Linked DNA regions of Homo sapiens: regions 2, 3, 4, 5, 6 and 7 are each linked to region 1. The links are contacts of gene promoters, found by promoter capture Hi-C in blood cells and fetal thymus (Javierre and others, 2016). All regions are on one chromosome and are shown on one strand. The core of a region is centred on a gene start or on the middle of the fragment in contact, and the rest is flanking DNA. Distances in the headings are between cores, read along the strand shown. Region 1 holds the start of NRP2 (neuropilin 2). Region 2 has its middle 250 kb from the start of ICOS. Region 3 has its middle 280 kb from the start of ICOS. Region 4 has its middle 260 kb from the start of PARD3B. Region 5 has its middle 250 kb from the start of PARD3B. Region 6 has its middle 190 kb from the start of PARD3B. Region 7 has its middle 170 kb from the start of PARD3B.

Region 1 (4,341 bases), core at 953-3,452:
ATTTGCAGCTGCCCTGAAGACCACTTATGGCAAAGAAAGAGCTGCAAACGTGCGGATCTGGGTGGCAAAGGCATTCCTGAATTTTCTTCCCCCCTCAAATAAATGCCCAAGCTTAAAGTGGTGTGTGTGCTGGTGGGGGGCGTGAGGAGAAGGAAGGGTGACAGTACCAGATGCAAGGCTAGGATCCACTAGCTGATGTTCTGGGGATGCCAAGGAGGCTGCAGAGTTAGCTCTACCACTGCCGCCATCGCCTTGCAAGTGCCTTGGGTGAGGGCACTTCAGGAAGGCTTTTTCGCCTTTCTTTCACCCATTTCCTCCATAGATGGTTTCTCCATCTCCAATCACCTGTAGCAGCTGCTAAGAGTTTTGTTGTTAGATTCCAGACACTGTTCTCAGAGGGGTAGGGAGGCTCACTCTAGAGAGTGGTCCGAGAAGGAAGCACAAACCCCACTGCATTCCCCATGGATTCCCCTTTCCAGAGCATACCCCTTGCCGCTCCCCACAAATGCGGTCCCCAGACTGTTCTGGGCCTCGAAATGCTTATCTCCACAGCAGCCTGTCCACACACCCTTTTTGGCAGTGGTTGAGAACAAATTCCACTCAAAAGTTTCTAACCACTTCACAAGAGTGAGAGACCTTCGAGGGCCTGCAATTTGTTTTAGCTAATAATAATTTCTAAAAGAACGTACGATTTACTTTCCCAGACAACACATGGATGAAGAGAGAAGAGACCAACCGTCTTGGTTGCCAGCAGCACCCAACCCCAAGCCCCTATCTCAGCCACAAGCCAACTTGCTCCACCAGCCTGAGCCTTATGATTCTGAAGCATAACCAGTCATTCTCCAAAGAATCTACAGCATCTGAAAACCAAAACTAAACTCTTGTCTTTCCCAAGCCCTTCAGTTAACATTGCTCAATGTAGCTAAGTGGAGGGAATGCAAATGATTTATATTTCACTGGCTAGTTGGAGAAACTCAAGGGAGATGTGTTCTGCTTCAAGACAGGGAAAAAAAATTCCCAAAAACTGTAATGCAAAGGCTTTGTAGTATTTTTAAACCTTTGATTCAGTCCATATGTGACATATGAACACCGCCAAATTCTGTTTCAAAACACACTCACACACACACACACACACACACACACACACTCCTAGCAGGAGAGGAAAGTTGGGTTTTAGCAGCCGTGGTGGTGTAGGAAGGGCCGGCTGGGATCTCTCTTTAAATTATTGAGTACTGAGGGAGCCTTCTTCTGTGCCGTTCTGCGTGGCCTTCCTGCTTTAGCGGTCACTTTTAAAGGGGAAACCATGTTGCAATAAATAGAAAAACTTTCAGTGGCTTACCTGGTTGGCCTCTCACTTGGTGTCTTGAAAAGTAGAGGGCTAAGAAAACCCAGGTGAGAGGAAACATATCCATTTTGGAGAAGGTGGCTCTTTCCAGAGCTGGGTTCGTAGGTTTCTTGTTTAAATCTTTGTGTTTTTCTCTCTTTTATTTTCCTCCTTACAACGTCTTATGCAGAGGTTTCTAATGGTCAGCGTTTCCCTCCTGAGTCCTGGTGGCTTGTCTTCACCTCTATTCTTGCTGGAATTTCCACCTCACCAGGAGGAGAGTAGCTCCTGAAATCAGCAAAGAGGGAACAAGCCGGGAAGAGAACACGGTTTTCCTCTTAAAAACAAAACGCATATATGTTCTCTCCAGTTCCTCAAAGTGTCATTTCCTTTATCCTACAAATATCACGAGTATTTCCCGAAAGCCAAGCGTAACAATAATGATAATAATAATAATTAAAACCAAGACTTGCCTTGGGCATCACACGGCCCCCAGGCAGCTGTGTGATCTCAGAGGCGTAAACTGACACACATCCCGCGGCACCCTTGACGGACACACGGGCGGAGGCAGCCGCCGCCGGACAGCCCGAGTGGAAGGCGGCCGCCCTGCTCTTGTCCTCGCCGGGTTCCCCCGGCGGGAGCCTCCCCCAACGGCTACACCCGCTTGGCCAGCCTCTCGAGGGGAGTCTGAGGAAGGAAGCTGCTGCTGCTGTTGCTGCTGCTGGTGCGGCGGCGGTGGCGGCTGGGATCGCCTGGGAGTGAGCGAGCCCCTCTCCGAGTTCGCTGGCGCCCGCCCTCACCTCCACCTCGCCGAGTGTCTGTGCGGCTGAGGATGTGCTGGGGGCCGGCTGCAGGCTGGTGCCTCGCTCGCGATCTCTGCCTCCCCTCCGGCTCCCCACTGCCTTTTCAGGCCGAGCAGCATGTGGATGTCAGAGCCGCGGCAGAGCTATCCGATTACGCGCCGGCTCAGGGCCCGCCCCTTCTGTGTTCCTGATTAAAGAGGCAGCCGCGGAGACGCGCGGCGCAGAGCAGAGTGCCGCGGCACCCAGCTCGGGCGGGGCGGCGACGGCTTCTCTCGGGCCGCCGCAGGATCGAAGTTAAGGCGGCGCCCATCCCACCACCCCTCGCCCGCCCCGCATCTCCCGATCGCCCCCGCGCACCTCCGCGCCGGGCCGCCGGTGCGTAACGCCCTGGGGAAGAAGCGCCCCCGGGCACCCCCAGGGCGCGCCGCCTTGGCCGTGTCGCCCCCACCCAAGGGAGACCCCGGGGGGACGGGGGGAAAAGCCTTGTTCCCCCTAAATTCCACGACTCCGATGCCACACACGCAGAACCCAACACAATGCCACGCGCGATGGCGTTACAAGAGGAGTTGGGTGGCGTACGGTGTTTGGGGTAGCGAGCCGGTCGGCAGCTCAGCCATGCGTTCGAACAGGCAGCGGTGCGTGGCGGCGACACACACCGTCAGCCCGGTCTGAATAAAACCCCAAACACTCGCTGCGTTTACTACTCAGATCCTTTGTTATGTCCCAAACATGCTCTGCTCCTCTCTGGGTTAGGATTTCGTTACCCCTGCGCCTTTAACTGTAACTACCCTAAAAAGAGGAAAGACTTTCTTCAGCAAATAATTTCTTCAGGTAATTAAATTGGATTCCATCAAGTTCCCCCGAAAAAGTATAGGTGCTTGAAGGCGTCTCATCCAAATGCTACTGTAACTACGTCTATTCACATTTTCCCCCATGGAAACGTGGTCACAAAGCCTAGAGAAAGAAAACATCATTATGCCAACTATTTTTAAATGGAGGCGTGAAAACTGTTTAGAGGGAACTGCAAGCTAACAGTTGGGGAAACACTTGTATCTTTGTTTCTGAGGATGGCTTTGTGGATTCCAAACTGTCTTGCTTCACCAGACACCTATTACTACATTATCATAAAGACTGCAACAGAAACAGCCTAAATTACACCCTGCACATGTACACCTTTTCTGCCACAAAAGAGGTATATGAAAAATAAGAAAATTCAGAAAAATATTTACAGATTAAGATTTTTTTTAAATTAAGAAAGTAAAATTTTCTGTAGATTAAGAAAAATACAGTTTCGGTGACGAGAAACACACACCTGACTACCCATTTTCTTCTTGGCTTGTACTTGTGGATTCTTCTGGGTGGTTTCCCTCCTTATCTGGACTTGCCCATTAGCTTTATCACTTTTAGTGTTTGAAAAATCTGTAACTCCCACTTAACTGTTATTTACACTGAGATAACCAAAACAAAATTGAATCAGAAGTGATTTGCAAATAGTTGAGCCAAGCTGTGTTGGGGGGTGGCGCGGGATTTTAGAGTGGAAATCCACAGGCTGAGTATCACACTGTTAATCTCAGATGCCTGGTTGGGAAAGGCACAGCACAGAGGCCTCTGAGTTCTTCCAGGGAGCATGTCTCTTGGCTAGCCTAAATGCTACCTTTCATTCCCTCTTTGCCTCCCTCCTTCCTCTTCCTCCCTCCTTTCCTTCCTTCTTCCTTCCTTTCTAGGCTTGAGAGCACATCCACATTATTAAAAACTCCAGATTTACATTTCTCCTCTTTAAAGCTCAATTGTAAAGAATGACTCCAAGCCTTAAATATTTAACAAAGTAAAAGAGCAGTTTGGATTATTAACCTTAAGCAGAGATCCCGGTTTATGTCATTGCCAAGATGCTAATCTAAGGACAAAGAACGCTATCTGTAGTGACAGTCCCTGAATAGAGAGGGCCATTTAATATCACCTCTCCCCACCACTCACCAGGCATGCCAAACCATTTTTGCCAGTGCCCAATGTGGGAGACTCCTGTTTGTGAGAATAATGTAGCCAGGGTTTAGGTGAAGGGCACTGTGAAAGGGGGAAAGAAGAGAGAAAAGGTAAACCTAAGCCCACTGGAGAACCATAAGAATGACAACCCTGGACTTCTGGTCTTGGGGTCTCAGGGATGAAGGTCCCCATCAGGCTGCTTCCAGAGTAGAGAAAAGTAAGAATCAGTTTTGT
Region 2 (4,341 bases), core at 1,214-3,713, 1.5 Mb after region 1:
AGGCATTCTAAGTCACAGGATGAGAAAGGGTGTAGGCACAAGAAACAAGTCAGAAAGACCTTGCTGGTAAAACAGTTTGCAGTAAAGAAGCTGGCCAAAACCCAGCAAAACCAAAATGGCGTCGAGAGTGACCTCTAGTTGTCCTTACTGCTCATTATATGCTAATTATAATTCATAAGTATGCTAAGTGACACTCCCACCAGCACCATGAGAGATATGGTCTAAAGGGGGAGGAACCCTTAGTTCTGGGAATTGCCCACCCCTTTCCTGGAAAACTCATGAATAATCCACCCCTTTTCAGCATCTACTCAAGAAATAACTATTAAAATGGGCAACCAGCAGCCCTTGGGGCTGCTCTGCCTTATCAACTTGCTTTCACTTTACTCTATGGACTTGCCTCGAATTCTTTCTTGCACAAGATCCAAGAACCTTCTCTCAGGGTCTGGATCGGGACCCCTTTCCAGTAACAGTAACTACTGTTATTGTTTGGTTGTTCTAAGCAGACATGTTTCATCATATAGCACAACAGGCCAATGCCGCAAACTGAAACAGAAAGAAACTACTGGCATATTTTTGACAAGAGAAAACATTTCCTTATATAAAAACATAATTTTGTTTAAGTCCAGACATTATGACCTTTTGAAATGCATTATTGACAATCTACTTAACACACAAATTTAATTTCTGATCTCCAGACATGATAGAAAGGAAGGCATGCTCATTTCAATTGTAAAGATTTTAGGCATAGTATTCAAATAATTCAATCAGTTAGAAAAATAGAAATGCTTCCTGAATAAGAAAGATCTTAAAAAAAGTGTTTTTTAAAGCAATGAATATACTAATATATAAACAATATTTCCGTTTGTTAAATATCTATGAAGGCCAAACTAGGCAATGACTGAGTTGGCTATTCTCCTCTGATGAAGATGGGCCTCTTCATGCAGTCCTTGGCTGGCTTTTCCACTTCTGTCCCTCTGTTCTTGGAAAGGAATCATAGGTCTTCTCTGTCTGGTCCTGAAGCTGAAGTTGGTGGCTGCTGTCCCTTTTCAGTTCTCTCACTCTTTGCTCAGAGAGGTGAAGGCTCATTGTGGGATGGCACTGGGGGTGATGCTAGGCTATCCAAAGGCCTCCTTTCTGCTTTTACTATGCATGCTCTCACTTCTTTGCAGTGCCCACCTTCTTGGGCTGGCCTTCCTTTTGACTATGGTACAGAGAGACGCCTTTGCCCTCTTCTGTGGCTCATATGGGTCTAGGTATGAAGTTTCTATGGGCTGGTTTTGTGATTCTTCATGCTCAAGTCTTGCTTGAGAACTCTCCCCCAAACGACCACCTCCACACCCACTACCACTATTCATAACATTATGGTAAATCTTGAGCCTCTGGAGTCAGAACAGAGCGAACAACTCTGTGAGGTTTGCTGCACAGTGGAGTTCTCTTAAGTCAGTAGATCTGAAAAGTATTTACTTGACTATTAACCCTGAATGGAATTCCTCGGATAAGTTATCACTTGTCCACTAGGCAGCTTCTTCATTACCTTAACATTATCACCAGTATTAATACACATCAAAAGCCTATAATCAATGTACCATTGACCCACCAATTCTATGTCTAGGGATTTATTTTTGTAACAGCAAAACAGCAAAAAACTAACATAAGTAACTCCATTTTGTTTAAAGGGCCTTTACCCATTCCTGCACATAGGCTAGGAGAATTTGAGAGTACTGAAATAAAATGCAAAAATGGCAATCATGTAATTTTTGAAACTAACTGAGATTAAAGAGGATGTATGTAAATAACTACGTTTTGTTAAAGATTTACAGGAGCACTATGACCTGACCAAGGGCAAAGAAGTTCCCAACCTCCTTGGACCTTCGCTGACACCCAGATATGTCTGTGGTCAGCGGTCACCTCTTGATACCAAACCCCTCCTCTTCCCTATATCCCCCCTAGCATAAAAACCCTCCAGTCAGCCTGCAAAACTTAACATGGTGCTTCAGAAGACTAGTTCACCATCGTCTCAGTTTTGCTGGTTTTCTGAACAAAACCTCCTTTTCCTCCCGCCAATTCTCATGTCTTGTGTTTGGCTTTCAAGTGGTGAGCAGCTGAACCTGGGCTCAGTTACATTCTAAGAAAATAGTCGAGAATGTTGTCCAAGATTTCATTTAGATGGAAGTTAAAGACAATCATGAAGAGTTTTGTAACAACATTGGAAATAAAAGTCTGCCTTTTTAATTAAAGTATGTTCATTTAACATAATTAATATTTAATAAATTTAACATAACGGAATTAAATTACAGTCCAAACAAATTAATGGATCACTTTCAAGTTTTTCAATATTGTAGGATAAAATTTTATGGCATGAAAGATGTTTGTTAAGTCTAAAACAAGGCTATAAAATAGTATGAGCTTAAAAAGCAAGTCACAGAAGACTGTATATATTTTGATATAAATATATCAAAAAATATATATATTGGCCAGGCACAGTGGCTCATGTCTGTAATCCCAGCACTTTGGGAGGCTGAGGCAGACAGATCATGAAGTCAAGAGATGGAGACCATCCTGGCTAACACAGTGAAACCCCATTTCTACTAAAAACACAAAATGTTAGCCAGGTGTGGTGGCACGTGCCTGTAGTCCCAGTTATTTGAGAGGCTGAGGCAGGAGAATCGCTTGAACCCGGGAGACAGAGGTTGCAGTGAGCCGAGATCGCACCACTGCACACCAGCATGGGCTACAGAGTGAGACTCCGTCTCAAAAAAGAAAAAAATGTATATCAAAATATTCTTGATATTTATTTTGATATTTATTTTATTATTGCTTTTAGATATATATCTTTTATTTCTTTTGAGATATATATCTTTTTTCTTTTGAGATAAACATATATATATATGAGATATACATATATATATCTTTCTTTATTATCTCAAAAGGAATAATAAACATGAAGTTCCCATACATAAAATAGCAGTTCTCTCCTTTGGGAGAAAGTCTAGGATAGTAGAGGGGACAGAGGCAAGTGCAATGATCTTGGTAATGCTTCTGTTCTGAAATTGGTTGATAGGTCAATTTTTAAAAATTTTGCCGTATAACTTGCATTTAAACTACATGCATTGTTTTATATGTATCAGATACTACATTATAAAATGCTAAAAATGCAGGGGGAGTATATCCTCATTTCAGGGCCATTGCATGCAGTTGTCCCAGTTATCCCCTGACGGAGGCATCCAGATGGATGCCTTGGCAAGAGAATATTTCAGGTCAGAGGAAAGGGAGTTCTTTCTCTAATTTGCATAAAAAGTACTCTCTACTTGCCAAATCTGCCCAGAGTGGTCATCTTTTGCTGATCTGATCCCCAAAGGGAGTCGCCTTTTTCTATTTTGCACACAGGTGCTGTATGTTCTGGCAGGGACACGCCTAGATGTATGTGTGGGTATACACATGTGCAACTGTGTGTGTATATAATATGTCATTACCACTGAATGGTGGGATTCTGACTTCAAAAATTTTGCTTACTCATATTTTCTTCATTTTCATTTACCATATACTACTTTTATATGAAAAAAATTAAATAGATGTTTTCAGGTAAGGTGTTTCCTTTCTCAAAAGGCAACTAATCCTAAAAATATGTGTTAAAATATGACACAAATCCACTAGACAATTTCACCTCTTGGTTTCAACTTTGCTGTCTTCCTCCCTGCCCCAATCCTACTGCTGACAGAACTCCCTCATCATTGCGTTTACCCTGTTCCCCTCAGAAAAAGCACATCTTCCCACAGTAGGAACCCATCTTTTGAAACACGCCATGCCTCTCCCCTTTGCACTGTGGACATTTAAGAAATGCTGTTATTCCTGTTTGTCAGCATATCATGGTTTTGGCACTAAAAAATCACACTGAAGCCAACACAAATTTTGCACATGAAAAACTATGGAGAGAGAGAGCGGATGGAGCTTCCAAGGCTAAAAGAGGAGAATTTTTTTTTTTAAATTAGCTGCATGGTTAATTTAATCTACAACGCCTGAGTTATTCATATGTACACACAAGGATCAAGGGGATGCAGAATGTAATAAGTCTTCTTGTTCTTTCACCCAAAAGAAATGGCTTTATTGTTTTACTTGATTTTAAAAAGTAATATATGTGTGGTTAAAATTTTAATAAAATATACAAATAAATTAAAGAGAAAGTAAAAATGTTTATAATAATTAACCTCCATAATAAATCACTACTGTTAATATTTTGGGGTTTATCCTTCCAGAACTCTTATACAAATTTATCATAGCTACTATTTAGAGAGAACATTTAGCAAGTCAGGTCCTATGCTAAGTAAGTTATGTATGTTATCT
Region 3 (4,341 bases), core at 994-3,493, 1.5 Mb after region 1:
GCAACATTTCCCGATGTAGAAAGTGAATTGAAAATACAACTGTGAATTGAAAATACTAATCTCATACTTCTGTAATAGCAAAAGCTGCTTGTGTTCATGTAAGTCAACTGAGAAAGTTCTAGATGGTAATTGCTTAACAGTATTCCAGAAACTTTCAAGGGAGTTTCATTTATTTATTCATTCAACAAATTATTTAGCACTAATGTGTGCGTGGTAACATTAAAGGGTATGGGGATACCATGATTAACACACATAAACAATGCTAACTTTGTGGAGGTATGTTCTAGTAAAACACTGGCAAACAAATCTAGAAAATAAGATAAGTAAGAAACTAGGCTGGGCGTGCTTGGCGTGGTTGTTCACATCTGTAATCCTAGCACTTTGGGAGGCCGAGGCAGGAGGATCACTTGAGCTCAGGAGTTTGAGACCAGCCTGGGCAACATAGGGAGACCTCAAGTCTACAAAAAAAAATTTTTTCATTAGCCAGGCATGGTGGCACGCCCCTATAGCCCCAGCTACGCAGGAGGCTAAGGTGGAGGAGTCACCTGGGCCTGGGAGGTAGACTCTGCAGTGAACCATGATTGCACCACTGAACTCCAACCAGGGCGACAGAGCAGAACCCTGCCCCAAAAATAAAAAAAGAAAGAAAGAAACTACGGTTGACCCTTGAACAATGTGAGTGGTAGTGGTGCTGACCCCCTGTGCAGTCAAAAATCCATATATAACTTTTTACTCCCTAAAAACCTAACTACTAATAGCCTATGGTTGACCAGAAGCCTTACAGATAACATAAACAGTTGATTAACACGTCTTTTGTGGGTTATATGTATTATATACTGTATTCTTAAAATAAGCTAAAGAAAAGAAAATGTTATCAAGAAAATCATAAGGAAGAGAAAATATATTTACTGTTCATTAAGTGGAAGTGGATAATCATAGAGGTCTTGGGCATCATTGTCCTCGTTATGTTAAATAGGCTGAGTTGGAGGAGAAGGAAGAGGAAGGACTGGTCTTGCTGTCTCAGGATGACAGAGGCAAAGAAGATGGAGGAGGTAGAAGGTGAGGCAAGAAAGATTTATTGAAAAAAATATGTGTGTAAATGGACCATGCAGTACAAATTTGTGTTGTTCAAGGGCCAACTGCATATACTATATTAGAGAGAGAGACATAATAAGGGAATTAAAACAGAAAGTTTTCTGTTGTCGGGGGTGGAGTTGTAATTTTACATATGGTGGAAATGAAAGTCTGCTTTATGAATCTAACTTTTGAACAAACACCTGAAAAAGGAAGACTAGCTATGAAACTATCTAGGGGAAGAGAATTCTAGGCAGAGGGAACAGTAAGGAAAAAAGGTCTGAGGTATGAGCCTGCCTGGTCACCTGGTATTTTTAAAGAAAAATCAGGAGATCAGTATGGCTGGAGTGGAGTGGCCAAAGGAGAGAATTACAGAATATAATTTAGACAGAAAACAAGGTCCAAATCATGCATGGTGGCGTAGGTCATTATTAGAACTGAGAAGCCTCAGAAGGGTTTTGAGTATTCGAAACGTGAAGAACTATAGTGATTTCCAAGTAAAGCTATGGGCAATGTCACACGCTAATACTCTGATTCAAATCAAGTGCTATGGTCTGAATGTTTGTGTCCCTCAAAATGCATACATTCACATTCTAGCCTCCAAGTTGATGGTATTAGGAAGTGGTGCCACTGGGAGGTAATTAGGTCATGAGGGCAGAGTCCTCATAAAAGGCATTAGTGCCCTTATAAAAGAGTCCTGAGAGGGATCCCTCACTTCCACTGTGTGAGGACACAGAGAGAAGGTGCTGTCTATGAAACAGGAAGAGGACCCTCATGGGATGCTAAATCCGCTAACACATTGATCTTGGACTCCACAGTCTCCAGAACTCTAAGAAATAAGTGTTTGTTTTTTATAAGCTGCCTATGCCACCTTACTATGACAGCATGAAAGGACTAAAACATCAAGTTACTTACTTTTCTGATTAGAGTGTGATGATGTATAGAAAAGTTGTTTTAAAATCACAAATATAAAAGTTTCTTAAGAAGATTGAGATTAATCTTCTCTATTAATCTTAACAGATTTTTGTGTCCCATTTCTATTTGAGTCTGAAAGCAACCCTACTATAAGCCGCAAGTTTCTTTTCATTGTTGTTAAGTTTAGATTGGTCAAACTGTCAGAATTCAAGCTAGTCAATCTCAGATATAAAATGAAAACTATGGGATGCACTGTAAACATTCATAAGGTATTTATGGTACTGTTTCTTTACTTTCAAGAACATGCCTTAGTTTCCAATTATAAACAAATGAATTGAGTAATAACAGAGTAGCTCAATCAAACTAACTCTCTTACAAAAAAAAAGCTGTAAGATCTGGAAAACTATTATTACACACACATAGACACATGCAAACACACAATTATTTAAGGGCTCAGAAGAGTGATTAAAAGTAAGCAGAAACTGCAGGGAGGGTTTACTTTGAAAGGGAAACCATGGACTGGGTGTGGTGGCTCATACCTGTAATCCCAGCACTTTGGGAGGCCGAGGCGGGGATCACCTGAGGTCAGGAGTTCAAGACCAGCCTGGCCAACTGGTGAAACCCCATCTCTACTAAATATACAAAAATTAGCTGGTCGTGGTGGTGGGTGCCTGTAATCCTAGCTACTCAGGAGGCTGAGGCAGGAGAATCACTTGAACCTGGGAGGCAGAGGTTGCAGTGAGCCGAGATCGTGCCATTGCAGTCCAGCCTGGGTGAAAAGAGCGAAACTCTATCAAAAAGAAAGGAAGAGAGAAAGAGAGGAAGGAAGGAAGGAAGATAGGAAGGAAGGAAGGAAGGAAGGAAGGAAGGAAGGAAGGAAGGAAGGAAGGAAGGGAGGGAGGGAGGGAGGGAGGGGGGAAAGAGAGAGAGAAAGGAAGAAAGAAAGAAAAAGAAAGAAGAAAAAGAAAGAAAAGAAAGGAAGAAAGAAGGAAAGAAAGAGAAAGAAAGAAAAAGAAAGAAAGAAAGAGAAAGAGGAAAGAGGAACGATGAAAGATAAAATTTGCAAGTTTATGGTATTTAGTCTGAAAGTATTGCCTATTCCACAAGAGGCTCAAGTGACAGAAAGCCACAGCTTTACAGGATAAATTAAAAATAAATAAATAAACAAGGATACATCATAGTCAAACTGCTGAAAAAACAAACAAACAAAGATAAAGAGACAATCTTGAAAGCAGGCAATGAAAAATGAGATACTCCATACAGGAGAACAATGATAAGAATAACTTCTGACTTGTCTAGAGAAACAGTGGGGGGTAGAAGACAATGGTACAGTATCTTTAAAGTGCTGAAAGGGAAAAACTGTTAACCCAGAAGTTTTCACCCAGTGAAAATACCTGCCAAAATTGAAAGCTAAAATAAAACATTTTAACATGAACAAAAACTCAGTGCATTTGTTGCCAGCAGGCTTGCACTACAAAATATGCTGAAAAGAGTTCTTTTGGCTAAAGAAAATGGTATGCTTGAGTCTACATGAAAAAATAAGGATTTCTAGAAATAGAAAATATGTGGATACATCTTAAAGACTTCTGTGCATACATACATACACACACATATGTAATATAGTCAATTCTTGTTATTTACAGTAATTATGTTCTATAAAGTAGCTGTGAACATGAAATTAGTGAACACTGAATTATTGCTCCTAGGGGAAATACAGGATTAGGCTCCTGAAATCTTCTGGTCATAACATTTTCATCAACTGATCAATACTTGATCTTGTGTGTTTCTGTTTGAAGACAAGTTATTTCATATATATTGTTGATTCATTAATATTGAACTCATGGCCAACAGCAGTATAACTCCTGCTTGAAAGAAATTTATCTATCTCACTATTTTCTCACAGCCTTCTTGTGCAAAGCCTATTACTCAGCACTTCACCTCACACTTGGGGGACGTTTTAAATGGCAAAATCACTAACAAAAAGCACACAAATGCAATGTGGCACTAAATAGACTATGAAAAATACACTTATTTATAATGTCTATATAAGGGAGGGCTGAATTAAGAACGCATGGCTGGGCGTGGTGGCACATGCCTGTAATCCCAGCACTTTGGGAGGCCAAGGTGGGTGGATCACAAGGTCAGGAGTTCGAGACCAGCCTGGCCAAGATGGTGAAACCCCGTCTCTACTAAAAATATAAAAATTAGCTGGGCGTGGTGGCAGGCGCCTATAATCCCAGTTACTTGGGAGGCTGAGGCAGGAGAATCACTTGAAACAGGGAGGCGGAGGTTGCAGTGAGCCGAGATCGTGCCACTGCACGCTAGCCTGGGTGACAGAGCAAGACTCCATCT
Region 4 (4,341 bases), core at 666-3,165, 1.4 Mb after region 1:
TTCCTTCGGGAGATAAGTGTTCTGAAGTCCCTGTTTGCCTGGGGTGGGTCTGGGGTAGTTGTAGCAGGCTTACTGAATAGCTGTTTAGTTAGTTGTTTCTCTGTTTGGGGCAGGTAAGTCGGTATTCATTCAGCATGGATAAATCAACTTTCCTCATTCTCTTTCCTTTCACTGTTAGTGAAGTAGCTTCTCAGATCTGCCCTTAGAATCCTTAATTCCAGTTAAAACAAAAACTATCAATGCGAAATAAGTCACAGGAATTGTTCTAAAGCAAAGGCATCTGGGTGCTTTCGTGTTTTCCTTCCAGAAGATGTTGAATTAGGAAAAATTTAAGGTGATCTAGGAATTCCCTGAATGCTTTTGGTGGTGTGAACATATTGTGAAAAACAAGCTTCTATTAACGCATCAGCAGGACAAATATTGAGAAGGATAGAAAATGGGTTTCAGCAGCCTGAAGCTTTGAAGAAGAGCTAAGGAGAGTTCAATTTAACTTGTTTTTGGATACTGTCCTGGAGCTCACACTCTTCCTCCTTCTCGTGTGTCGTGTGGACATGCAGAAGACGAGGATATGATTTTTGTAACATGGAGCATTTTTAATCCCTTTCCTGTCACACTAAGTAAATAACTCACCGTGAAATACTCAGGAGATGACTCTAAACTGCAGTAGGATATGGAGCAATGTACAAAATTTTAGATGTGGACATTAATAAACCTAGCCAGAGAGTATGGTTTAATGGCTTGTCGTGGTACCAGAAACATGGGCGCCATTTAATGGAAGTTCTATCCTCATGCTTGGTTGTCTCTTAAATTGTAAACCCATGAATCCTCTGGAAGCAGCTGCCTGGGAGCAAACAGTACAATAAAACTCACCTTTCCTCAGCCTCAAAGGACTGCTGGCTTTCAGCAAAGCCCAGGTTAAGGAGGTGGGTCTCTTCCAGCCCACATCTCTTCTGTGATAACAGGACTCTGTTTTCTATTTTAGAGCAGCAGAACATGAGTCTTAGGAAGGTAAAGATGTCTGTCCAAGGTTACCCTGCAGGGCTAGTCAAGAATTATAGACCATGTTCTCACTCATAGGTGGGAATTGAACAATGAAAACACATGGACACAGGAAGGGGAACGTCACACACCGTGGCCTGTTGTCGGGTGGGGGAGGGGGGAGGGATAGCATTAGGAGGTATACCTAATGTTAAATGACGAGTTAATGGGTGTAGCACACCAACATGGCACACGTATACATATGTAACTAAACTGCACGTTGCACACATGTACCCTAAAACTTAAAGTATAAAAAAAAAAAGATTTATAGACCAGGAGTAGGACTAAAGCCTCCTGATTTTTATTTCAATATTTCAGTGTTTTGACCTCCTCCTTGGACATTACTTATGTATGGAACTCACATATACACAGAGATTTCTCAAAGACCTATATTTAAGGGTACTTAGCATAGCCCGGCTATTCACAGGTCCCTGCTAGAGCTACGGCAGCAAGGAATGAAAACAAAGGGAGAATTTAATGCCTATTGAAAGCTGACTCAGAGCATGTAAAGGTGAAAGTGTGTGGTCGGAAGGCTTAGCTGCCTGTTGAGTTCTGTTATTCAGTAACTCAAGGAGCCTGTTGTGAGCTGCTTTGGCGCTATTAACACATCTGGAGCTAGTGGCCATACACTGGGGACTTTTTAAAATGTAAAAGCAGCTTTGTAGGCAAACTTGTGTTAGAATGAAATACTTCTGAAGACCAAAGGCTAAGTTTATAGAGTGCACCTCTCTCTCCCTGACTCAGTTCTGGGGGGCTTTTGATGGAGCGTATGCTAAACCTATACACTTATTTGGAGGAGTAAAAATTGTCCTCCTGTCCTGGGTTGTGTTTACTTTCAACGTAACCCTTTGGATCTCTGAGCAGATCCAAAAATCAAACAAACTAACAAAACAGTCAACAGAGTGGAGACTCTTCTGATATTCTCCGTCTGCACCTAGACCTATTTCCCCACCTGCTCTAGGCCCCATGAGGGTGAGTCTGGATAGTGGGCTCCCTTTCCCGCTGGGTGTTGGGTTGGGTTTGGCCAGTGGAGGTCACTGTCAGGAGATGAGAGAGTAAGAAGAGATGGAGAATTGTTATTTATTCTCTATGTCATGACCAGTTTCATCATTATCATCTCTTTTCACCCTTTACCTCTCCAGATTTCTGGAAATAAATTCCAGAATAAGAGTTCATCCTGCCGATCCAGAGCCACAGTTTGGAGACGCTGTATTCCTAGATTGAAGGCCTGGCTCCTGGTGGACAGCCTTCTCTCTAAAGCTACTCTCTCCAGGTTCTGGCAACTGCAGCCAAAGGGCCAAAGGTAAATCATGAGGGAAGCCTGCGGTGAAAGTAAGGCAGCATAGAAATGAACCAGGAGCAATTAAATGAAATAATAAAATGACAGGTGTCTTCACTTGCTTTATAGTTGGTCTAAACATGGTATCTTGGTGGACCATTCTGAGATAAAGTTGGGACACAGTGTCTTGGAATCACAATCCACCATTTGTTCCCTTCCACCTGGCCTCTTTTTCCTCATTCCCCTCCAGGAATGCATGGGCATCAACGGTAAGGCTATTTACTAACCGAAATGCCAATGCATGCCATTTTCCCCAACAGGAACAAAAGGGATTGAAAGTCAGTCCAGAAAGGATAGACTGTTACTTTGGACTTTATTTCCAGAAATCTGCAGAGGTAACAGATGAAATGAGATGATGAAGCCAGCCATGTAGAAGGTCTCAGGACATGGAGGTGCAGTGAACTTACCATGAGAGGGTAAGTTCTGGAGAAGCTGGCCAATGCTTCCCAGGACTGGGGCAGATGCTAACTCTTGCTCTTTCTTCTCAGTAATGGTCTTGTTTTCCCCACGATTACCTTTGCACCGACATCCCAGTGTTTGGACATGGAGGCTAAGACATAGGCATCGTTTGCTGCTAGATCTGCCTCTAGCCAAGCAGAAGGTGACGAACAGTCACTTGGGTTCCCTGCTGAGGTTAGGGCCAAAGCCACAGCTGGCTGTGGTAGAGGATTCTTTGTCTGAAGAGAAGGTAGCTCTGGTAGGTGGACACGGCAGTAATAATATCATCATAGTAGCATAACCAGTTAATGAGATCTGCAATTGCCACAGTCAGTCTCAGCATGTTTCTGTCACCATCCAAGCGATCAAAACCTACCATAGAGCCCTAAACCCTCCTGTCTTCAACCATTTCCTTGGCCAGGAGTGGGGATTTGTTTGCCAAAAGTGATATCCTAAATACTGAATCTTGATGATCATTTCCACCCTCCCAACATCTGAGAAGGCTGGAATTTCTCTCAGTTGACTACAGGTTGTGTCTGACTTTGTGAAAGAAGCTTTGTCTCCAGGGGTCTCTTAATTGGGGTAAGAGAAACTGAAACACCTTCATTTATGTCATGCCAACCTTTCCAAGAGCCCAAAGCACATTAGGATTGTCGCCTTATTAATGTGCCTTACTGCAAAGCCCACAGAGCAGCACACACCTGCCTGGAAGGTGTAAGGCTTCAACTGAATGGTACATGCCACCGATACAGAGTCATTCACTGACACCCCCAGCCTGACCCCGCTTAGTTGCTGAGATCTGATGAGATCAGAGCAGAAGGTGACAAGGCTGTGAGCTTAATTAAAGGAATGGTTTTGTTCAATCCATGCTCATCCTTTCCCCCTTCACCCAGTAATTCTCAGACATGCCAAGAAAATCACAATGAGGAGGAGATTATGACCTAGTGATCTCATTCAGGATGTGACATTATCTCATTTCAACAGCCTGGGAAGAGCAATGCCATTTTCAACTCTGGGAGAAATTTGACCAGTGACAGAGCAAAATTTAGCCCAGACTTTTCACTTTCCTGTTTATCTCCAAGGTAAGGGGTCCCCAGCCAGCTGTATCAGGGAATCCAAACACCCTCCCAATCTCTAATACACAGCTTGCTGGCAATGAAGCCTCCCCAACCCCTTCTCTCCACAGATAAGTGGAATCCACATGTCCTAGAGGTGAGACATGTACACTCAAGGAAGGAGTAAAATATATAAAGTCTTCTCACTCCAGCATCTTTGCTTTTAAATTTCTTCCTAAAGAAGGAAGGATTTCTGCCATCTTCACAAAACAGTAGAGATTTCAACCTCTTAAACCTATTACTCAATATTAAAAGGATTTGGTGACTGAATAGCCTTAAGAGTATGTTGCTCTCAGCTTTCTGTCCCGACCTGCTCTTGGTCACTTTCATTCATTTGCTCATAGCTGGCTGCCTGGATTAATTTTCTGGACTGAATACATTTCCTTGCATTACCCACTTATGTGATAAATA
Region 5 (4,341 bases), core at 1,267-3,766, 1.4 Mb after region 1:
GTTCGTATGAAAATGCTGTCTATTGGGCCAAACATCATCTATTTGGGGGCTGTGCTACATCTCTCTGACGAGGAGCCTTTCTTTTGACACTTCTCAAATCATTTTTGAGAAAATTTTCTCAAAAAAATTCATTTTTTTCTCAGAAGATACAGTTTTCTTTCATGAGAGGTAAAATTTTATTGCCAATTCCTCCCAATCCACTTTCCACTTTTAACGAAGAATTATATTTTTCCAGGAATGGGTAACTAAATACAAATGTGCATTCTTCACTGATGCAGTTAACTAGGACTCTGGAAAGCCCACAATCCAGGAATCATCAACTCTTTTCCTGGGCCTCCATTCTTGCAAACTAAAGCTCCACAGTGATGGTTTCTACCTTATTCATTTGGGCCTAAAGAACTTTAATGGAAGATGGAGTTTGCCTGGGGTCATCTTAAGAATTTGGTTAAGAACCTGCAAATAGATTTTCCAGGCCACTCTGGGAAACTACACACAACAACAAACCTGGTCTCTTCAAGGTCCTTTAGTTTGGGATCTGCCTAACATAAGCTCAAACTCCAAGGGCTAATCAACACTCAAATTGAGGGTAAGAAATGTTGAGAGTAAATGAAAAGGAATTTGCTTTGTTAAATGTTTCTCTAGACAGTGCCCCTATTCTTTTCCTAGTAGGACAGCAAAGTCCCATTGGGAAGGCTGGCTAGCTGTGAAATGACATACATGCAGAAGAACTGTCTTCCAGATATCCCTCAACAACTAATTTGTCTCCTGAAGCATGAAATTTAATTACCCATATTGGACATACTTGCATAATCACATATTTTTATTGCACAAAATTGTTCAGTCTTTTAAAGTGTAGGGACAGAATCCTGGTTATAGAAATGTCTTTGACATCGGAGATTTGCACAAGTAAACATTTTGTGTGAATAACTATTTTCCAGTGTGGATTCTCATTTGCCGCCTTTTGATATTGTTGAGCATTGACTTGCACTCATATTTTGCTGTTATGTTGACAAAGGGGGACTGATAAGTTTTTATTAAACCCTTGTAATATTAAGCCCTGCTATCAAATTCATCCTAAGCTTCTGCTAATCCTCTTCTTTGTTGCCTATCATAGTACGTAAATCGTCCTCCACCTCTAAGCAAGCTCATACCCTTCTCCAGCACTTTTCAATCTCACTCCCACTTCTCTTGAAACAAGGTGACCAGAAGTGAACATGAGACTCCCCACAAGGACAGAGGCATACCACCTCTTCAAGGGAAGCCGATTAACTGTGAAATAACCAGCAATATTTTTAGCACTCTTCTCACTTTTATAAAAGAGAGTGAGATGTCACATTTACTTGGCTAATGGCTATTGCTCCTAGGAAAAGCTGAAATTAGCCTAAAAATGGCTGATCATGACTATCGGGGCAGAGATAGGAGAATTACCCCACTAGGAAGCCATGGTGTCCATTTGAAGTCTGGTTTCTAAGGCTCTTTGTAGAAGACTAGCTGGACATAAGAGGAGAGACATATACAGGAGTTCAAGCATGGTGCTAGGGGGTGGGTATGTAGAGAAAAAAGCAAATGGTCCAGGGAATGGGAAAATAGGGGGGACATAAATTTCTAATATTTATGCAGAACCTAATATATGCCAGGGAATATTTGTAAATGCTAGTCATGAGCTAGCTCATAATCCTTCCAACAGCCTGAAAAGGTGGGAACCATTATCATAATCATTTTAGAGAGGAGATAGAACCTTGGAGAGATTTTCTGAAGCTCTCTAAGCCAGTAGTCTTAATTGTAATACTTTTCACATCATTAGGCCTTTTGTTTTCAATGCATTTTCTTACCTAATCCCCAAAGCAATTCTATGAAGAAAGTACTCCTTTTAGAGATAGAAACCAAGTCCCAGAGAGGTTAAATAACTTCCTCAAGCTCACACAGCTTGCCAGTGGCAGAGATGAGGTCCAAATCCAGTTCTGTGTGATGCACCAAGGCATGGAACTCCAAGAGTGCCATGTGGTGGCTGCTGTCCCAGCTCTCCCCTCCCTCCATCAGAGCCAGCATGAATTTTGGGACACTGCCTTGCCCAAGGAAGTATGTGAAGTCCTGAGGTGTCACTAGATTTTCCATCTTTCTCAGTTTTATTTTATTTATTTATTTATTTATTTTTTTTTTTTTTGCTTTCTGTCTTTGGACTTCTTTAGAGCTTAACTGGTTCATGCCTTTGGCATTTTAGTCACCACCCTGCATTCTTGGGAAGCTCAAATTTGCTTGTTAGTTCTTAGGAGAAGCTGAGTTTGTAAGCAATCACTAAGTCCAGCAATGGTATGCTGCCAACAATCAATAAAAAACAGAAAAGCCAGAAGGCAACTAGAATGTAATCATCTGCGGGTGGTGTAGGGACACTCCCATGCCACTCTCACCCATTTCTTGAGATTTCTAACTGGTTACCCTTCACATGGAAGTCACTGCATCCCATAAGTGTAGTAAACGTTGACCCTCAGATGTTAGGAAGTAGAGCGGGAAGTCTCCTTTGATAAGTGCTTACCACGTAAGGACACTGATTTGTGCAACTGTATGTAAGTTACTCACCATGACTTCCAAAGCCAATAATGAATAATCAATATTATGTCACGTTGTCCACATCGAGTGTATCACTGAGCCAGCAATGGAACCCAGGCCTATGTAAGTCCTAAACCTGTTCATTTCTAGAAACATGCTCCTGAATAAAACCAATGGCACAATCCATTGGCTACTTTTTCTACTTGGTCTTTTGGGGGCAGTTATCTGTGTAAATAGCAACTAGAAATTTGCTATTTCCATACTACCTTGAGGATCTGCCATAATGGGAAATGAGACAAGAACAAAAGCCCCATCAGTTACTAACTATTTCTTTAGATTTCTGCTGTCATGGAGAACACAGTTATTGGGCTTTGTTTGCTGTGGCTGCAACTAAATTTCCCAAACCTGCTAAGTGAAGTCGGTGTATGACTGGCGCAGTGACCAGCAGAACAAAAAGCTACAAATTATCTCTATAGAACATTAATCGAAGGTCTCTGTGCTATAGAATCCTTTTCTCAATTAGAAAGCTGTCGAGGGAGTAATGTTCTCTCTAAAAATCATGATATACACAGCTCTATAAATCGATGAAAGACTTGTGACCATTAAACTTAATTGATACTGAATTTAGAGGAATACGTTTCAATCATGTTGCCATTTTATTTGAAAATTAGTTTCTGGCATTACCTCTTTCCTTCCCTCGACACGCAGGGACACGCAGCCCTCCAAAGTGAGCTAACCAGGAACCAGGGAGACTCAGCTCTGACTGCGAAGCCCTCAGCACCGGGCAAACACACAGAAGATGTTTCAAGGTGCTGTAAACAAGTAGACATAAAACAGGAAATAAAAACTGATTTCAAGTAAAATCAGCAACAACTTGGTTTTATATAGTACCCCATATGTTCCACAGGAATAATACCCCATGGCACTTTATAGGGAAAAAGTTAAAAAAAAAAAAAAAAGGCTACTCCAAGGACTACACTAGGAAAATAATTAACTTCTTGAATATGTTCTCAGGCTTGAGTAGGTGCAATTCTTTCCCTGAGATTACTGTTGGCAATAGTGCTGAGGAGCTGTTGTTTTCTGTAATTGGCTCTGGATGGAAGCCATGCTGAAAGCAAAGAGCAAAGACAGCTTTGGGTTAGAATGTTTGGAGTGTGTGAGAGCATGTATGTGTGAGTATGTGTATGTGTGAGCATATGTGTGCGTGTGTGTTCATATGTGAATTGCAGGAAACCCTCCTCAAATGTGATCAATTTATCTAATCTAGAACCATCATTGAAGCACTGTGACAAAGTAATAAAAGAAATCCAGAATTGATTCTATCTAAAGAGCCCAAATGCACTTACCCTGTCACTGTTTTCTAAATGCAGTCATGGAAGAAAAAAAAACTGAAGAAAGAAGCTTTTTTTTTGAGACAGAGTTTCACTCTCGTTGCCCAGGCTGGAGTGCAATGGCACAAACTTGGCTCACCGCAACCTCTGCCTCCCAGGTTCAAGTGATTCTCCTGCCTCAGCCTCCCAAGTAGCTGGGATTACAGGCATGCTCCACCACGCCCGGCTAATTTTGTATTTTTAGTAGAGACGGTGTTTCTCCATGTTGGTCAGCTCGGTCTCGAACTCCTAACCTCAGGTGATCCACCTGCCTAGGTCTCCCAAAGTGCTGGGATTACAGGCGTAAGCCACCGTGCCCGGCCCAAAAGAAGCTTCTTTTTTAAAAAGAAAACAAGAAACTGACAGGAAATATGTTTTTCACATAAACCTTCCAGAAATATATTATATGTGTAGTAATTTTTTC
Region 6 (4,341 bases), core at 1,373-3,872, 1.3 Mb after region 1:
GGAAAAAACATGGTTTTGATAGCATAGCAAACACATTGAGCTATTGAAGTACTACCACAGACATATTTAATTTCTGTGAAAAAATAATTGGGTCTGCAGCAATAATTATAGCTATCAAATTGTTTCTTCTGAAAAAGAAAGGAAAGGGGATTTAAACCATTAACTATCAGAGTCATAGCTCTTTTGATCCTCAGGAAAGAAGCATGAAATTTGCTCTTGAATTGGGGGTGGGCAGGGAGGAAGAAAGGAAAGGGGAAGTCCTTGTGGTGCCATCATCTCCAACACACAAAGGGTTGGCAGGATCTCAAGCTCCATCCATCTGTCAGCTCTTAGCTCTTGGCCTCAGTCGAGGGCTAAGGGGGCAAAGGTAGAGGCAATTGCTGAGAGAAGAGAGGTTTACATTTTTGTGCCTTCTACATTGCAAGGACAAAAGCCACGTGGCCTCTCATTACAAAGCTGGTTGATGTAGTTTCACTTGTTCTCTTACTTAATCATCCCAACTTCCCTAGGAAGTTTGTACTATTATATCCATTTTACAGATGAGGAAATGAGGATCAAAGAGATGAAAGGTTGAAGTGGTTTGCAGTTGCCATATAAGGTATAACAGAGAAGGAAAGGGAGTTTGAACTTTGATACTGTAACTCCAAGGGTGTCATTTTCTGGTAACTCACTGCTGTCTCTCTCTATTATTTTTTTCTTCTATTCATTAATGACTCCTATGTACCAAGTACTTTCACATAAATATTCTTATATATTTAATTCTCAGAAAAATCCTATGAAGTAGGTGTTACCATTTACATTAGTTTAGTAGGGCTACCATTTAAAAGTACCAAAAACTGAGTAGCTTAAACAACAGAAATTTATTTCTAAACAGAAACCTCACAGTCTGGAGACTCCAAGGTGTACAGGTCCAAGATCAAGGCATTGGCATGTCGTGCTCCCTCTGCAGGTGCAAGGAAAAGGTCTGTTCCTTCCAGATTTCTCTCCTCCTACCTTCTGGTCCTGCCTTCTGAGAGTTGCTTGACCTGTGGCAGTGTAACCCCACACTTCACATGGCGTTCTCCCTGCATGCGTGTCTGTCTTCAAATTTCGCTTTCTATAAGGACACCAGTCAGTTTGGGTTAGGGACCTACCCTACTCCAAAATGAAGAGTGTGAGTTAGATGAGTATGACTTCATCCTGACTTAAGTAATTGTATCTACAATGACCTTATTTCCAAATAAGATCACAATCTGAGGTCCTGGGGGTTAGGACTTCAGCATATAATTTTTAGGAAGGAAAATAATTCAACCATCTCAATTTTTCATAAAGCAAAACTGATTGATCTAAGGTTGCTGATCAAATAAATGTCAAGGCCAGGATCTGGAGTCAGCTTTTCTGACCAGGAGTCCACAATATTTTGCTCTTATACTTCCCCTCCCCCTAAATAAATATGGATGAGATCTGAACCAATCTGACTGAGGCATAAGCAAATGCCATGCAAATTGTACATTTGAAATGCAAATAAAATGCGATTCCAAAGATTATTTAATCCTAGGCCAGCCTATTTGGTGGACTTAAAAGGACATCAAAAGTCATCAGAGAACTCGATTTGGAGAATATAGGGCTTTTTTTACTAGGCAGGGGAAAAGATAATTGGAAGCTGGGAAGAGAATAAGTGGGGTCTATAGCCAATTGGAAGAGAATAAGCTGGCTCTTTAGCCAATTGATAGGTGCTGAAGAAGAGAAAATTGAGGAAGGTGCTAAGTGAGATGCAGAGAATGCATGCGTGAGGCCTGAGTATCCCCAGATTCACAATTCCCCTGTGAAATTCATGATGCATCTAGGATAGGGGGAAAGAAAAGCTGAATAATCCCAAGAGAGGCACCAATAGTGTGAGCTGGTTACTAGAGGTGATCCATGCCCTGGTCTGCCTGGGACTGAGAGGTTTCCCAGAAAGGGATTTTCAGTGCTAAAACTGACACAGCCTCAGGCAAAAAGACATGGTTGTCACCTACTAGTGAGTGAACTTTTGAAGTTTGATTAATTAGTAAGGAGATGGGGGTCTCCTGGTTTAAGCCTCACTCTAGTGTGTTAATAATTTGCCACAGGGATGCTTCAAACAAGAATGCTGTTAAGATACCACAGCTAATCAGTAGCTAGTTTTTACCCCCTAGAAACAGACCCTGCAGTTTTGTTACATTGCTTTTCCCTAGCTGAGCTGGAGGTGTTAGGAGATGGGGGAGCTCTTTAAACAGAAAAATCACAGACAGGCTTTGGGCCTTTGTTGGTAACTGAGAAATATACGCAAGGCTAAACACTCTGCATTGAAGGAACTTTCCATTTCACTCCCTTCTCTCTAGTCTCCACTCAGGTCCCTCGGGTAAACAGGTAATGAGAAGATAATTTTTCAGACATTTCTGATCAGAAACATCAATGAAGGCCCTTGGTAAAAATACAGGTTCAGACACTAATTTATTCAGAATCTCCAGGGAAGAGCCTCAGAAGTGTTTTTTTTTTTTTTTTTTTTTTTTTTTTGGAGATGGAGTCCCGCTCTTGTTGAAGTGCAATGGCACAATCTCAGCTCACTGCAACTTCTGCCTCCAGGGTTCAAGCAATCCTCTGCCTCAGCCTCCCGAGTAGCTGGGATTATAGGTGCCTGCCACCATGCCTAGCTAATTTTTGTATTTTTAGTAGAGACAGGGTTTCACCATCTTGGCCAGGCTGGTCTTGAACTCCTGATCTTGTGATCCACCCGCCTCGGCCTCCCAAAGTGCTGGGAGAAGTGGTATTTTTTTAAAGCAAATTCCCCAGGTGACTGTTGGAAGTGGTGAAGCCCTGGACACAGAGGACAGAAACCCTGTTGGTAGGAGACTATGCATCCTTCCTGGGAAAGCCTCCACGTCCATGTGTTCATATCAGGATACACACAGGAGACAGGAGCTGGAAGATACCCCCTTTCTGCATCACCTCCCCTGTGTCCATTTCCAGGGTGTGTGTGAGTGTATATATATATAAAATGTATATTATATATTATATATATTTTATATTATAGATAATGTATATTATATATTATGTATATTTTATATTATAGACAATGTATATTATATTATATATTTTTATATTATAGATAATGTATATTATATATTATATATTTATATATATTTATATTATATATATATATATTATATAGATATATATATATTTTTTTTTTTTTTCGAGACAGAGCCTCGCTCTGTCGCCCAGGCTGGAGTGCAGTGGTGCGATCTTGGTTCACTGCAAGATCGCAGCTCACTGCAAGCTCCACCTCCCGGGTTCACACCATTCTCCTGCCTCAGCCTCCCAAGTAGCTGGGACTACAGGCGCCTGCCACCACATCCGGCGAATTTTTTTTGTATTTTTAGTAGACAGGGTTTCACCGTGTTAGCCAGGATAGTCTCAATCTCCTGACCTCGTGATCCACCCGCCTCAGCCTCCCAAAGTGCTGGGATTACAGGCGTGAGTCACCGCGCCCAGCCTCCAGGGTACATTTTTTTGGTCTCAAAACAAGCACCAAGGAGAAGGGGTGAATAGGAGTTTTGTTTGTTTTCTTTTTTGTAATTTAGCTATGAGGGGGGTCTTTAACTCTCCATAGATCAGCTAGCAATGTTTTTGGCAACCAAAGAGAGCTTAGGAAGAAAATGGGGTGGTTTGATCTGGGGGTGCTAACAGGGCCTCAGCTCACAAGCCGGTTAGAGAGGCTTTATCTCTCTGTGTTGTGTTCACGTCTGGGAGGAAGAAAGGGAGGGTTCCAGATTGTTAACCAGCGGCAGCTGGCAGCTTTATTGTTTTTTAATTAAATAACCCTCAGCCACAGGAGCACACACCAATCCCCCACCTCCTCCTCCTCACGAAACCTCATTAAGCAAAAGGACTACAATTAAGCCCGGAATCCACGGTTGACACTCTCACCATCCGTCTGTTGCTTCTGCACAGGCTGTGGGCAAGACAAGCGGCTCTCTCCTCGTTTCATGGGCAGGGGGTGATAACAGGGAGAGGCCATCTTTATTTGTCACTTAATGGGCAACCTGGCCCTTCCTTCAGGGCAACCAGATGCATCTTTTGTCCTTAACCCACTTCCACGTGGATGGCTGCCCATCAAATAAAGCAAGACATCTGCCCGGAAGGGCCAATTTACCTCAAACAGGTGAGGCCTTTGATTCGGAGAGCAAGGGAATTTTACTGATGTTCGTTTGCCATGCATTTGGGCCCAATATGTCGGAAGTATTTTCACATGATTGAAGGTAGATAGCCGTCAGCACGTTTAACTGATTCTGCCTCCTTGTTTCTTTCTAGGGACACGTGGCTGCAGGTGAGGCTGGT
Region 7 (4,341 bases), core at 687-3,186, 1.3 Mb after region 1:
CTTAAGATGTTCAATTTGGACTCTGTGTCCCATTACTCTATGCTATTACCTTATGGTCAACATTATAGGGACAAGGGAAAGCTCTGTTAGTCATTGAAATGATTAATGATTTTCTGGTTATGAAATTGAAGTACAGATCAGAAATTACTTTCTCGAGCCCTTGGTCTGACATTTCTTCCTAATCACCAGTATATTAATCTGTTTAATGTTGCTAAAAAGGAAAACCTGAGGTGGGTCATGGTGGCTCATGCCTGTAATCCCAGCACTTTGGGAGGCCGAGGCAGGCAGATCACATGAGGTCAAAGGTTCAAGACCAGCCTGGTCAACATGGTGAAACCTTGTCTCTACTAAAAATTTTTTAAAAACTTAGCTGGGCATGGTGGCGCTGTAGTCCAGCCACTCGGGGAGGCTGAGGCAGGAGAATCGCTTGAACCCAGGAGGCAGAGTTTGCCGTGAGCCAAGATTGCACCACTGCACTCCAGCCTGGGCAACAGAGGGAGATTCCATCTAAAACAAAGAAACAGAAACCTGAGGCTGGGTAATTTATTTAAAAAAAAAAAAAAGTTTATTTGGCTCACAATTCTGATGTCTCGAAAAGTTCAAAAATATTGAGCATCTGCATTTGGTGACGACCATAGACTCATGGCAGAAGATGAAGGGGAGCCTGTGTGTGCAGAGATCAAATGGTGAGAGTGGATGCAAGGGAGAGCAAGAGCCGCGGGTTGGGGGTATGGGGGTGGGCTCTTTTTAACAACAAGCTCTTTCGGGAACTACTCACTACCCAGGGAGGGTATAATCTATTTCTGAGGGATTCACCTCCATGACCCAAACACCTTCCATGGGGCACCACCTCCAACATTCGGGATCAAACTTCAACATGAGGTTTCAGGGAACAAATATCCAAACTATAGCAATGAGAAAGAGCATAAAAAGTGAGAAGAGGTTCCTGTTTTCCCCAGACTCAGCGTTGTTTTGTATTCCTTCCCACTTTCCTGCCAGTATTATCACCTCCATATGGCTGCTCCTTCTTCCAGAAATCTACTTCATTATTGCCAATTTCTCACAGGCATGGAATTTTACCTCCCACCTACATAAAGCCCTCCTTTCTGACAGTGAAGCTGCTGTTTTTCATGGCCCCATCCTGGAAACCCCTTTGTATTAGTCTATTCTCATACTAAAGACATACCTGAGACTGGGTAATGTATAAAGAAAAAGAGGTTTAATGGACTCACAGTTCCACATGGCCGGGGAGGCCTCACAATCATGGCAGAAGGCAAAGGAGGAGCAAAGGCATGTCTTACATGGTGGCAGGCAAGACAGCATGTGCAGGGGAACTGCCCTTTATAAAACCATCAGATCTCATGAGACTTACTATCACAAGAACAGCACAGGAAAAACCCACTCCCATGATTCTGTTTCCTCCCACTGGGTCCCTCCCATGACACATGGGGATTATGAGAGCTACAATTCAAGGTAAGATTTGGGTGGGGACACAGCCAAACCATATCACCCAACATCGGGCCCTTTGCCCTTGCTGGTCCCTCTGCATGGGGTAATTTCCCTCTGGATAACCCAACACTTGCTTCCTCACTCTTTTAGGTTTTTGCTCAATGTCACTTTCTCAGTGAGGCCTTCTCTGAGCACCCTATTTAAAATTTCAGTTCCTAGCTCCACCCATAGAATTCCATATCACCTTTGTCTAATGTATCTGAATTACTGTGTATTTCATTTATTTATTTATTTATTTATTTTCTATGTCCTCCTCCCACTTAGATGCAAGTCCCATGGAGATGGGGTTTTTGTCTAGTTATTCACTATGCTATCTCTAGCACTTAGAATAGTGCCTGACTTATAGAATACACTTTGTGAAATCCATAACTAACTTGAGCTGATCTTGTGATTCTGCAATCACATTGGGGTCTCTGAAGGGTTGAAACATTATAGGGATATACTCAGAGGAGTGCTCAGGACCCAGGAACACAAAGTCAATGCTGGGTCAAGCCATTTGGGGTCAGATACGAGAGAAAAAGGCAGTAGCATTGGTCTTGTCTTTAACATTTTGATATTTTATTCACCATGTATTTTTTGCATAATTTTTATTTTTCAAAATATTGTGTTAAGATACCATTTATGTGACTACTGAGTTCTTTGTGCTGCCTTAAATTTTGTGCCTGAGGCAAGTGCCTCACTGGCCTCCCCTAGTCCTGACCCTGAAAGAGGGGCAAAGGGCCCTGGAATTGGTCACTAAATATGTGCTGAGATGGCCTGGAAGATCTGCTGCATCTCTTCCCAAGATGTTCTCAAAATGCTTCTGATTATACAATGTGTGAAAAAGGTTGATGCTTTAAGTGTAATCTTTTAAGGGGAAATCTGAGCACAATGCCAAAAGAGGGGTTTTCCAAGTGACAATAGAAAGTTTTGACAGACTATTAGTAGAGATGATGTTTGATGGGGATGATGATGATGATGTTGACAATGATGGCATTTAAAGTGCCAATGTATCTTATGAAGGAATTCAGATATTAAGTCAAAGCCTAAGGCAAAAATGACATTTTATTAGTTTTTCTCCTTGATATCTTAGAGAGTCATGCTGGAGACCAAACAAACCGCAATTCCGCATAAGCCTAACTTTAGTTGTTCTTCCTATATTAAAGCAGATTGGTGTTTCTTCATGTGTGCACCAGATGAAGTCTCTGGCTTCCATTTAAAGGACTTGATGTATAACAAACATATACTTTATAAAGACCTTCTAGGGGGCATAGAGATGCTCATGGTATGAGAGGCACGCAGAGGCTGACACTGACTGAGGGACCCACAAACTCATAGATCCCTTCTCATGCTTACTCCAAGTCACACACACAAATAAATGGATATTTATTTCTCTTTTTTCTTGTTCTGTTGAGGATGTATGTCAGGCTGAATTAGCCCAGGTTAAATGTGTTAAGATAGGTCTCTACTATCTTGAGTACTTGCTATGTGCAGACATTGTGCTATTTGCTTGTATGCATTACTATTTAGTTTTCATAACTGTATGACATAGGCACCCTTATTATGCTCCTTTAACAGATAAGAACACTGAGGATTGGAAAAGTCCATTGTTCTCAAGGTCACATAACTAATCTTGAATGGGGAATTCAAACAGAAATTCAAAGACCTTTCACTTCACCGCTCTACAACCCTGTCAACTTTTGCCTTCAGGTCTCTCCAGTCTAAAATATCAGAAAAACTTGACCTTAGCCTCATTGGCTGTCATGCCATGTCCTATCGGGTCTTACCTGCCTTTACTATACATATTATATAGAAAAAAACACCTGGCCTGGAGTATAGCTCACTAAAATTCTTCTCTTTGTTCTGCCACTGGTTTCATTTGTAATTTTAGGCAGGGTCCCCAGTTTCTTAAGGACTAAGTTAAGTCGATTGTAAAATAAAAGTTTTATATTAGATTATCTTTCATATAATCTTTTTAGCTCAGGTTTTCCATTATTCCATTTCCTGATTTAATGCATCTGTAGTTGCCACAAAACTCTTAATTGGAAAAGTCATATGGCAACATTTCATTGAACAGTTGCCACCACTTTTAAACCATTGCTCCAAAGCCAAAGTAAGATTTAAAAGTGAGGTAGGGAACAATTATAGAAGAAAGAGAATTTCAGTGAAGGGGATGCATTCAGCCTCAAAGACACTCTTTGTGAGTATGTGTGCTCCAAAAGCCAAGAATATCTATGCCACTCCTTTGATACAAAGGCAGAAGATATTTTGAGAGAAGAGAGCTCTTTTATAAATATATTGCTCTGCGGGACTCCCACTGCTCCAACGTTAACATGGTTTTGGGTAAGAACAGCTAAGAAGAAACCAGACATTGCTTGTGTAGAGAAGTAACATTACTGAACTCTTTACCCTTGAGAGAGAAAGACTGAAGCTTAGGGGCTGAGTGTTCATTTACTCGGACAGAGTAACTGAAAGATTTTTTTTTTTTTTTTGAGATGGAGTTTCGTTCTGTTGCCCAGGCTGGAGTGCAGTGGCACAATCTCGCCTCACTGCAAGCTCCGCCTCCCAGGTTCATGCCATTCTCCTGCCTCAGCCTCCCAAGTAGCTGGGACTACAGGCGCCCGCCACCACGCCGGGCTAATTTTTTGTATTTTTAGTAGAGACGGGGTTTCACCGTGTTAGCCAGGATGGTCTTGATCTCCTGACCTCGTGATCCACCCACCTCAGCCTCCCAAAGTGCTGGGATTACAGGCGTAAGCCACTGTGCCCGGCCCCTGAAAGATTTTTCAAATTCACACCAAAGCACCAGTGCCAGTGCAGTATCTTCAAGAAAGGGATCTGGGTTGGAGATAG

What was found. Contacts are between HindIII fragments. The CHiCAGO score rates a contact against its expected background, and 5 or more counts as called.
Region 2: a contact is called between a fragment that was not itself captured here and the fragment with the promoter of NRP2 in region 1, in 2 of 17 cell types (M2 macrophages and M0 macrophages). The highest score is 5.7, in M2 macrophages.
Region 3: a fragment that was not itself captured here is called in contact with the fragment with the promoter of NRP2 in region 1 in 1 of 17 cell types (M2 macrophages); the score reaches 5.6 in M2 macrophages.
Region 4: a fragment that was not itself captured here is called in contact with the fragment with the promoter of NRP2 in region 1 in 5 of 17 cell types (M0 macrophages, M2 macrophages, M1 macrophages and 2 more); the score reaches 11.4 in M0 macrophages.
Region 5: a contact is called between a fragment that was not itself captured here and the fragment with the promoter of NRP2 in region 1, in 6 of 17 cell types (M2 macrophages, M1 macrophages, non-activated CD4 T cells and 3 more). The highest score is 9.6, in M2 macrophages.
Region 6: a contact is called between a fragment that was not itself captured here and the fragment with the promoter of NRP2 in region 1, in 4 of 17 cell types (total CD4 T cells, total CD8 T cells, neutrophils and 1 more). The highest score is 10.1, in total CD4 T cells.
Region 7: a contact is called between a fragment that was not itself captured here and the fragment with the promoter of NRP2 in region 1, in 1 of 17 cell types (non-activated CD4 T cells). The highest score is 7.6, in non-activated CD4 T cells.

What each region holds. Positions count from the first base shown.
Region 1 is chr2:205,680,362-205,684,702 of GRCh38, reverse strand. It overlaps NRP2 (neuropilin 2), which reads right to left and starts at 2,202. Exons shown (of 17, transcript NM_003872.3): 1 at 1,340-2,202. The coding sequence starts at 1,412. RefSeq lists an enhancer at 1-207 and a silencer at 2,682-2,801. The HindIII fragment of the contact is 6,030 bases long and covers 114-4,341 here.
Region 2 is chr2:204,183,324-204,187,664 of GRCh38, reverse strand. No RefSeq gene overlaps it. Among named protein-coding and RNA genes, the nearest start is that of ICOS, 250 kb to the right of the region's middle. The HindIII fragment of the contact is 7,295 bases long and covers 1-4,341 here.
Region 3 is chr2:204,212,703-204,217,043 of GRCh38, reverse strand. No RefSeq gene overlaps it. Among named protein-coding and RNA genes, the nearest start is that of ICOS, 280 kb to the right of the region's middle. The HindIII fragment of the contact is 9,112 bases long and covers 1-4,341 here.
Region 4 is chr2:204,279,960-204,284,300 of GRCh38, reverse strand. No RefSeq gene overlaps it. Among named protein-coding and RNA genes, the nearest start is that of PARD3B, 260 kb to the left of the region's middle. RefSeq lists an enhancer at 1,205-1,982. The HindIII fragment of the contact is 2,912 bases long and covers 460-3,371 here.
Region 5 is chr2:204,297,884-204,302,224 of GRCh38, reverse strand. No RefSeq gene overlaps it. Among named protein-coding and RNA genes, the nearest start is that of PARD3B, 250 kb to the left of the region's middle. The HindIII fragment of the contact is 2,869 bases long and covers 1,082-3,950 here.
Region 6 is chr2:204,357,024-204,361,364 of GRCh38, reverse strand. No RefSeq gene overlaps it. Among named protein-coding and RNA genes, the nearest start is that of PARD3B, 190 kb to the left of the region's middle. The HindIII fragment of the contact is 6,416 bases long and covers 1-4,341 here.
Region 7 is chr2:204,374,848-204,379,188 of GRCh38, reverse strand. It overlaps the pseudogene LOC100132669. Among named protein-coding and RNA genes, the nearest start is that of PARD3B, 170 kb to the left of the region's middle. The HindIII fragment of the contact is 3,971 bases long and covers 1-3,921 here.